Regions from separate parts of the Homo sapiens genome. Here region 1 is linked to region 2. The links are contacts of gene promoters, found by promoter capture Hi-C in blood cells and fetal thymus (Javierre and others, 2016). All regions are on one chromosome and are shown on one strand. Each heading gives the region's core, a stretch centred on a gene start or on the middle of the fragment in contact. The rest is flanking DNA. Distances are from core to core; before and after follow the strand shown. Region 1 has its middle 4.3 kb from the start of NAPG. Region 2 holds the start of IMPA2 (inositol monophosphatase 2).

Region 1 (3,849 bases), core at 304-2,803, 1.5 Mb before region 2:
CAAGAGAGAACATTTATAGGTTGGCACTAGGCTATCTGCAAGTGGTCTAATGAAATACATGACGGGTTTCCACTAAGCCAATTCAGTGTGTTGGTTTTATCTTTTATTCAAAGATAGCTTGCAAAGGAAGATCTGTATTTTTCTCTCTCTTTAAAAATAATATTCATCAAAACGGTTGTGTTCGTTAGAGTGGATTTAACAGAGATCTGTTGTTAAACATTTACAATGCTTCATCTCTTTCCAACATTACTGTACTCGGACAATGCTGCCTCACTTTGTGTACAAAACAGTGAGAGAGATCGCTTTTATGTGGAAAGTTCAGTTATGAATGCGAAATGTTGCCAGAATCTGACTGTAATCCCAAGAGGCAGAAACTAACCACTTTTGTTTGGACGGCTTGCAGCTTGTAAAGGCACGTGCAGGCAGCGCCACCATGTGTTTTCTGAAGAGACCCATAAGGCTACGCGGGAGAAGGAATGAACGCCAGGACTCTCCCCAGCCAACGTATACCTAAGTGGGACTTCTCAGTATAATATGCTTGGCGCATCTGTTAGGGGTGGCCCTTTCTCAGCCATTTGACAACTTACTTCAGTCAAACCTAATAAACTTCCAACTCTCATTTTCCAATTATTATTAAAATTTCAAAGCAGGTAGGTGTAAAGTACCAGGTATGTAGTAAACTGACTATTTTTTCCCCCATAAAAACATTTGAAAATTAATAATTGGTCCATACAACTAAGCAGCGGTGTTGCGTGAGTGGTTATTAAACTATTACAAAATAAGGACCATTTTCTGGTCCATTATAGTGGGCCAAGTATAAATTTGGAGTCAGATGGGTCTGGGTTCAAGTCCCCATCTTCCCGTTTACTTGCTGTGTGACCTTAGGAAAGTTACTTAGCTTCTCTGACCTTCAGTCCTCATATGTGAGATGGGATAACAACAGTGTTTCTAAAGCACTTTGTAGAGTTTCTGGCAAATGGTGACCAGGGGCCCTAGGGTTTAGTGGAGGTTTTAGCTGCCAGCATCCATCAGGTGCCTGGGAGCTCAGGCAAGCTCCACGCTGCTAATCCCACTCTCACTCCAGGCACCTTTGGCACCCGTCTCCCCACCGACCCCACCTGGCCCAGCTTCCTGCTGCGCTGGAAGCTATGCTATGGTTAGGGGATGCCAGTCTACCTGGTCTTCAATGGCTGGCACCTGTGGGTGTGGCCCCGTTCTCTTTCTCCTTTTCAAACATTCATTCTCTTGCTTTGATTTTGAAATTCAATTGAAAATAAAAAAATTAATAATGATGGTTCTGTGAAAGGTTAGAGCAGGAGAGGTTGAGAGGAATGTGGAGAAAGCCCAGCAAAAAGAAGCAAATACAAGCCAAAGAAATCACTGGAAAGGGCTGGGTGCAGGGGGGTGCACTGGTGATCCCAGCACTCTGGGAGGCTGAGGCAAGAGGGTTGCTTGAGCCCAGAAGTTTGAGATCAGCCTGGGCAACATAGTGAGGCCTTGTCGCTACTAAAAATAATAATAAAAAATAGCCAGGTGTGGTGGCACATACCCACAGTCCCAGTTACTTGGGAGGTTGAGGCAGGAGGATTGCTTGAGGCTAGGAGTTTGAGGCTGCAGTGAGCCATGATTATGCCACTGCACTCCAACCTGGGTGACAGAGTAAGACCCTGTCTCTAAAAAAAAAGAAAGAATAATTTAAAAAAGAAAGAAAGAAAGAAAGAAAAGAAATTACCTTGAAGAAGGGCCATGGCCAGACTTGAGAGAAAACACCTTCCAAGTGTCCAAATGCTTCTTCCTCTTCTTCCGTAATGACACAGGACTTTCAGCCAAAATTGACTGAGTTCTGCTCTGGAATTCGCACTGCACTGTGTTCTGAACACAGATGGTGAGTGCAGTCACAGACGATGGCAACTAACAGACTACGCGGTGGCTGTGGACAGGGAGATGAGGAGACGTGGTTGCCTCTGGGCACTTTTTGGAGGCAAAGTCGACAGAATTTCCTACAGATTGCATGTGTTGTGCGACAGAAAGAGCAGAGGAGCATGACTCCAAGTGTTTGGGCAAGGAGAGGGTGAAGCTGCCATGAACCCAGCATGGCTGAGCCTGAAGGGAGAGCAGGTATGGGAGCATCAGGAGCTCAGATTTGAACAGATTATGTATGACATTTTAGATGTCTAGGTGGAGCTGCTAAGAAGGCATTGGACACAGGAATCTGGAGAACGAATTCTCCATATTAATCTCATAGAGATTCAGTGGTGATTTTTAAAAGTCAATGTATTCATTAACACTTAACCAGAAAAAAAAATACAGATCATAATGGCTTCTATTAGTTTTATCAGAAAAAAAGCCAAGAACAATCTTCTAAAATCCTATTCTGATGAAAGGAACTGTCAAATGATAGCAGAATTTGTTCCAAAGGTTTTTTGTAAATTCGTTATTTATAACTCAGAATATATTTTCCCAGAGAAATGATTTTATGATTCATGGCTAACCTCTTGGGCTGGGTCTCAGAAGTGTATCTCTTGTATAACATAACAGTATATTTGTGGGGGAAAAGGGTAAAATTACACAGTCAGGCTACTAGCAATTAAACAAACAAAGAAAACTTAGCGATATAGGAGCTCTTATGTTTCCTTATTTATGATTCCTGATTTGAAATAGAGCTCATTTGACCCATCAAACCCTCTCTCCAAGAAATGACAAAGACCTTTTATTTGACTGGAACATTCAGCTGTGGGAGGTAGGTCCAAGGATTTTGCTTCCTGGCAGCAGACTAGGCTAGGGGAAGGAAGCAGGTTTGTGTAGACAAGGAACCTGGGGATGCAGGCTTAAAGAACTCTCAGAGACTTAAGCCCACCATGAGAGAAGGAATGGGGTTTGCAAGCTCTATTTTAAGCCTCATTCACACTTTGATGTGAATCATTTTAGTCACATCCAAAACAAGTAGATCACTCAGGAATGCACATTTTTATTGAGGCAGGATAAAGAAAAAGAGTTTCTAGAACTAGAGGAGAGGATTGGCTCAGATGGAATCACTTGGGCCAGCAGCCAGCAAGTCTGTATGTTGACGGGGTAGGTGAGGGAGGACATGAGCGTCTAAAGAGCCTTAGGAGAGGAGGCAAGAGGTAAGTTGAAGTCACAAAGACAACTTTTGCTGAGGTTCTGGTGGTAGCTGCTGTGATAACAAGAATTACGTTTATGGGTCAACAAGGCCTGGGGTCACACTATCGATTCTAGCTTGGGAAACTACACGTCTTAGTCTATCATCATTTGGTCCATGCTTTCCATTCTCAGTTCTTCTAAGCTGACTTCTCAGTTTAAATTCCCCTTGCTCAACTCCCACCTCAATGTTATTGCAGGAAGAGAAGGGGAGGGGAAGAAAGTGGGGGCATTTGTGTTACACCTTTACTGTGCCCATTCTCTCTCTTCTTCTCCCCTTTACTATGAATGCATGTTAGCACATACTTACCACGGCTTCCCTGGTCAAGGGTCCTTTGAAACATAGAACCCTTGAATGCCCATGGCTATTGATATAGCTCCAACGAATGGAGGAACACCAGGGTTGTTGGTCTCGTGCTGATAGGATTAACAACACGGACACGTGGAGTGGTTTTAAGGAGTGAAAAGTTTAATAGGCAAGAAAGAAGGAAGGAAGAAGAAAACACCTCCCCCATACAGAGACAGAGGTAGGGAGGATTTGAACAAAGAGAAAACCCAGTGTGCAGTGGAAAAGTGGTTGCTTATATTGGGATCCTGGAGGAGGTGGTGTCTGGTTTGCATAGGGCCCAGGGGATTGGTTTGACCAGGTGTGTCATTTACATAGCTCTCGAAAAACCTGGCCCTCCCACC
Region 2 (3,547 bases), core at 488-2,987:
TTGTTGGTCAGGCTGGTCTCGATCTCTTGACCTCGTGATCCGCCCGCCTCGGCATCCCAAAGTGCTGGGATTACAGGCGTGAGCCACCGCACCCGGCCTCTGTCTTAAACATCATAAAAACATAAGAACCCAAAAAAGATGGAGGGGAGTGCGCCCTTAGCTGCCCCAAACTGGCGTGGTGGGAGGCAGGGCAATTGGTCTAGTTTTCTGAGCCGTAGGATTAGGGCTCTGGGTGAGGCCAGAGTCCCTAAAGTTGTACCCATATCTGCGTGTTTGTATTTCCTGTTTGTAATTCCTCCTGTTTGTACTTTTTGTCTCTTATACGGTACACTTAAAGTTTCTCCACAAGGTGTTTCAGCATAAAGTACTCAAAAACTAAAAACGTTTAATTTCATTATTAGGTTAAGTGTGTAAAAAATGCCCCATCAAGGTTCTTGTACAAACTCCCATTATTCTCCCAGACTCCGAAGTGGCACTCCAGAATAATTTTACGTGGGTTAGCATCTTTTATAAAACGGGCAGGCAGAGCGGCTTATGAAATTAACCTTGGAAACCACGCGGCCACTCTTTCGGGAAATGCCTCCTATTTATGTTTACATGGGCCAGCAAGAGAATCCAAGGTTGGAAAGGTCATTCCTCACTACAGAGGCTCATCGCAATCACAGTTCCGTCTCCAAATTCGAGTTTTGGGTGTGAAGAGTTTATAAAGTCCAGCCGCTGTCCTCGCAGTGTTTGGGGTTAGCGGAGGGAGAGCTTGTTTGCGACCAAACTTGCCGCGCGGGGCGGCCGCTTGCAGGAACACTGCGGCCTTGTGCGCTCGGCGGTCTGAGCTCCTGCGAGGCCGAGAACGACGCCTAGCGCCCAGCGGCCTCCGCGAACAAAAAGCGACCGGTCGGAAGGTGCTGGCCCAGCCGCCCCTGGCGCTCGAGCCCGAATCCGGCCACAGACCATGAAGGGACGCCCGGCACCACGTGCGCGGGGATCCGCGGACGGGACGCTCCCCGGCACCTCCGGGGCTGGGCCGGCACCGCACGGTCCCACCCAGACAGTAGCTGCCCCGGGCCCCCAAAACAGCCGCTCCTAGCTCCTCCCTCCCAGCTCTGCGGTGGCCCAAGCCGCCCTCCGCGCGCTTGACCCAGAACAGTACGGAGTTCTGCACGAGCCGGGGGTGGGGCCTGTCTCAGCGCGCGGCGGTGGGGCGGGGCTTGGACACGGGCCCGGCTCAACTTGAGGGAGGCGGGGCTCGAGGCTCAGAGGAGTTGGAGCCCGCTCTGCGCGCTGCGGGACGGGGCACGGCGGAGCAGGGTTGGGTCCGCCTCGAGCGGGGAGGGTGATGCTGCACCACAGGGGCGGGGCTGGAGGTAAAGCGCGGAGCGGAGAGGGACCAGGCTCGGCACTGATTTGTGTTCAGGGCTAGCCCAGAGGGGCGGGGCCAGGTACGGGGCGCAGCCGGGAGCGGGAGGGGCGGTGCAGGACGGGGCCGGGCACGGCGCGGGAAGAGGCCAGGAGCAGCAACGGGTGCGGGGCGGGGCCGGGAGCGTCAAGGGGCGGGGAAGAGGGGGGAATGGGCGGGGCCGAGCTCTGCGAGGGGCGAGGTGGGGAATGCAGAGCGGGGCCGGACGCGGGAGCAGGGAGCTGGGCGGGGAGCGGGGCGGGGAGCTGGGCTGGGCTCGGCACGGGGCGGGGCGGAGGGTGGGGAGCGGAAAGCAGGACGCACGGCTCCCGCGGCCCGCTGGCTGCCCTTCCCGCCAGCGCAGGTGTGGGACGGGCGGCGGACTAGGCACAGAGCTGCGGGAGCAGGCACAGGGAGTGTGGAGCCTGGCGGCGGGACGGCGGGATCCGGTGGGAGCCGGAGTCCCGCCGAGGGGGGCTGGAGGTGGAGGGGCCCGGCGAGGCCGCGATGAAGCCGAGCGGCGAGGACCAGGCGGCGCTGGCGGCCGGCCCCTGGGAGGAGTGCTTCCAGGCGGCCGTGCAGCTGGCGCTGCGGGCAGGACAGGTGAGCGCCACGGCTGGGCTCGGAAGTCCGGGCGGAGCAGAAGCGCGTGGGCCTTGGGAGCCGCCTGGAGTGGCGGGGTCCTGGCGCGCAGCCGGCGGGCGCCCAGGGTCCGCACCCGAGGGCGCGGGGCGCGGAGCGGTGAAAGGAGCCTTTGTGCTGGTGTCCTGGACACACCTCCCGCGCCCTTCTCCAACTCCCGGAGCCCTGGCGGCGAGCCCCTCTGCTTTGGAGTTCAGCGGCTAACGTGACCTTTGCGTTTGAGTGAGTGGTCAGAATGTAGAAATCTCTCCAGGGGTAGCGTACGGGGCTGTTGATTTTTAAGGACCTATGAACGGATTCAGCTCGCGGTAGGAAGCCCGGGGCTAAGCCCCAGCCGCGTGGGGATCTGGCTGGGCTGCCGTTTGATTGTCCTGGCTGCAGCATCCTCAACCCAAACTTACTCTGACCCACACCCTGAAAGTGGCTCAGCTCCGCGACGGCCACGGACTCAGAGTTCAGGAGGAACTTGTTACACTGCCCGGAAGGATGAAAACCGAGCCGCAGAGCTACCGAAAACCAGCGAGCAGAGTTTAAAATGGAGTGCAGTTCCTCTCTTCTCTTTTTCATTTTTGTGATTGTTCCTTCCACTTTCCTCAGTACCTTTAGCAGTGCCTGACACACCGACGGTAGTGGTAGGCAAGCGAGTGTTGGTTCTCCCAGGACTGTAAGATGGCTTACTCCATGTTTGTCTCTTAGGATGTGATTGTGGGCCGGGCGCAGTGGCTCACGCCTGTAATCCCAGCACTTTGGGAGGCCGAGGCGGGTGGACCACTTGAGGTCAGGAGTTCGAGACCAGCCTGACCAACATGGTGAAACCCCGTCTCTACTGAAAATACAAAATTAGCTGGGCATGGTGGCGCGTGCCTTAGTTCCAGCTATTTGGGAGGCTGAGGCAGGAGAATCACTTGAACCTGGGAGGCGAAGGTTGCAGTGAGCTGAGATCGCGCCATTGCACACCAGCCTGGGCAACAAGAACAAAACTCCGTCTCAAAAAAAAAAAAAAAAAGTGATTGTTTTCGGGGATTTTAGAGACAGGAGGTGTGCTGAGAGCAGATTGGCCTTTTATATTCAAACATTTGTTTTCTTTTTTGAGGTCTGACAGTCCGAAAATGCTCTACCAGTTTCCCTAGATGTTGAAATCGGACTGTTATCAATCTTAAATTTGAAGTGAGTCGTCATAAAGTGGATAGTGCTTTACCTTGGTGCAAATCCTCTAATCCTGTTTAAAAATTAATCTGCAATACTAAGTAGACTCATTTTTTGTTGAAGGGCCTTCCTTCCCTTTGTAGTTTGAAGAACCCAAGCCTCAGACCGTAAAGAATGAATGAATTTAAGAGTGTTGCGAAACTCCACCCTTTGACCTTTCCCTCCTGTAGGAAAAGGAGGACCCTAAACCTTCCTGCAAGGCAGATGAAGCTTGTAGCTTCAGTGCAAGCGTTCTTCCTGGAAAGCAGAGCTGCTGTGTGCATGGAACACGGGTTCTCCTTCCATCCTTCCCTGCCTCCCAGCTTT

The links. Contacts are between HindIII fragments. The CHiCAGO score rates a contact against its expected background, and 5 or more counts as called.
Region 1: a contact is called between a fragment that was not itself captured here and the fragment with the promoter of IMPA2 in region 2, in 1 of 17 cell types (total CD4 T cells). The highest score is 5.5, in total CD4 T cells.

Annotation. Positions count from the first base shown.
Region 1 is chr18:10,519,852-10,523,700 of GRCh38, forward strand. No RefSeq gene overlaps it. Among named protein-coding and RNA genes, the nearest start is that of NAPG, 4.3 kb to the right of the region's middle. The HindIII fragment of the contact is 4,914 bases long and covers 1-3,849 here.
Region 2 is chr18:11,979,770-11,983,316 of GRCh38, forward strand. It overlaps IMPA2 (inositol monophosphatase 2), which reads left to right and starts at 1,738. Exons shown (of 8, transcript NM_014214.3): 1 at 1,738-1,996. The coding sequence starts at 1,901. RefSeq lists silencers at 661-955, 796-2,275. The HindIII fragment of the contact is 12,350 bases long and covers 1-3,449 here.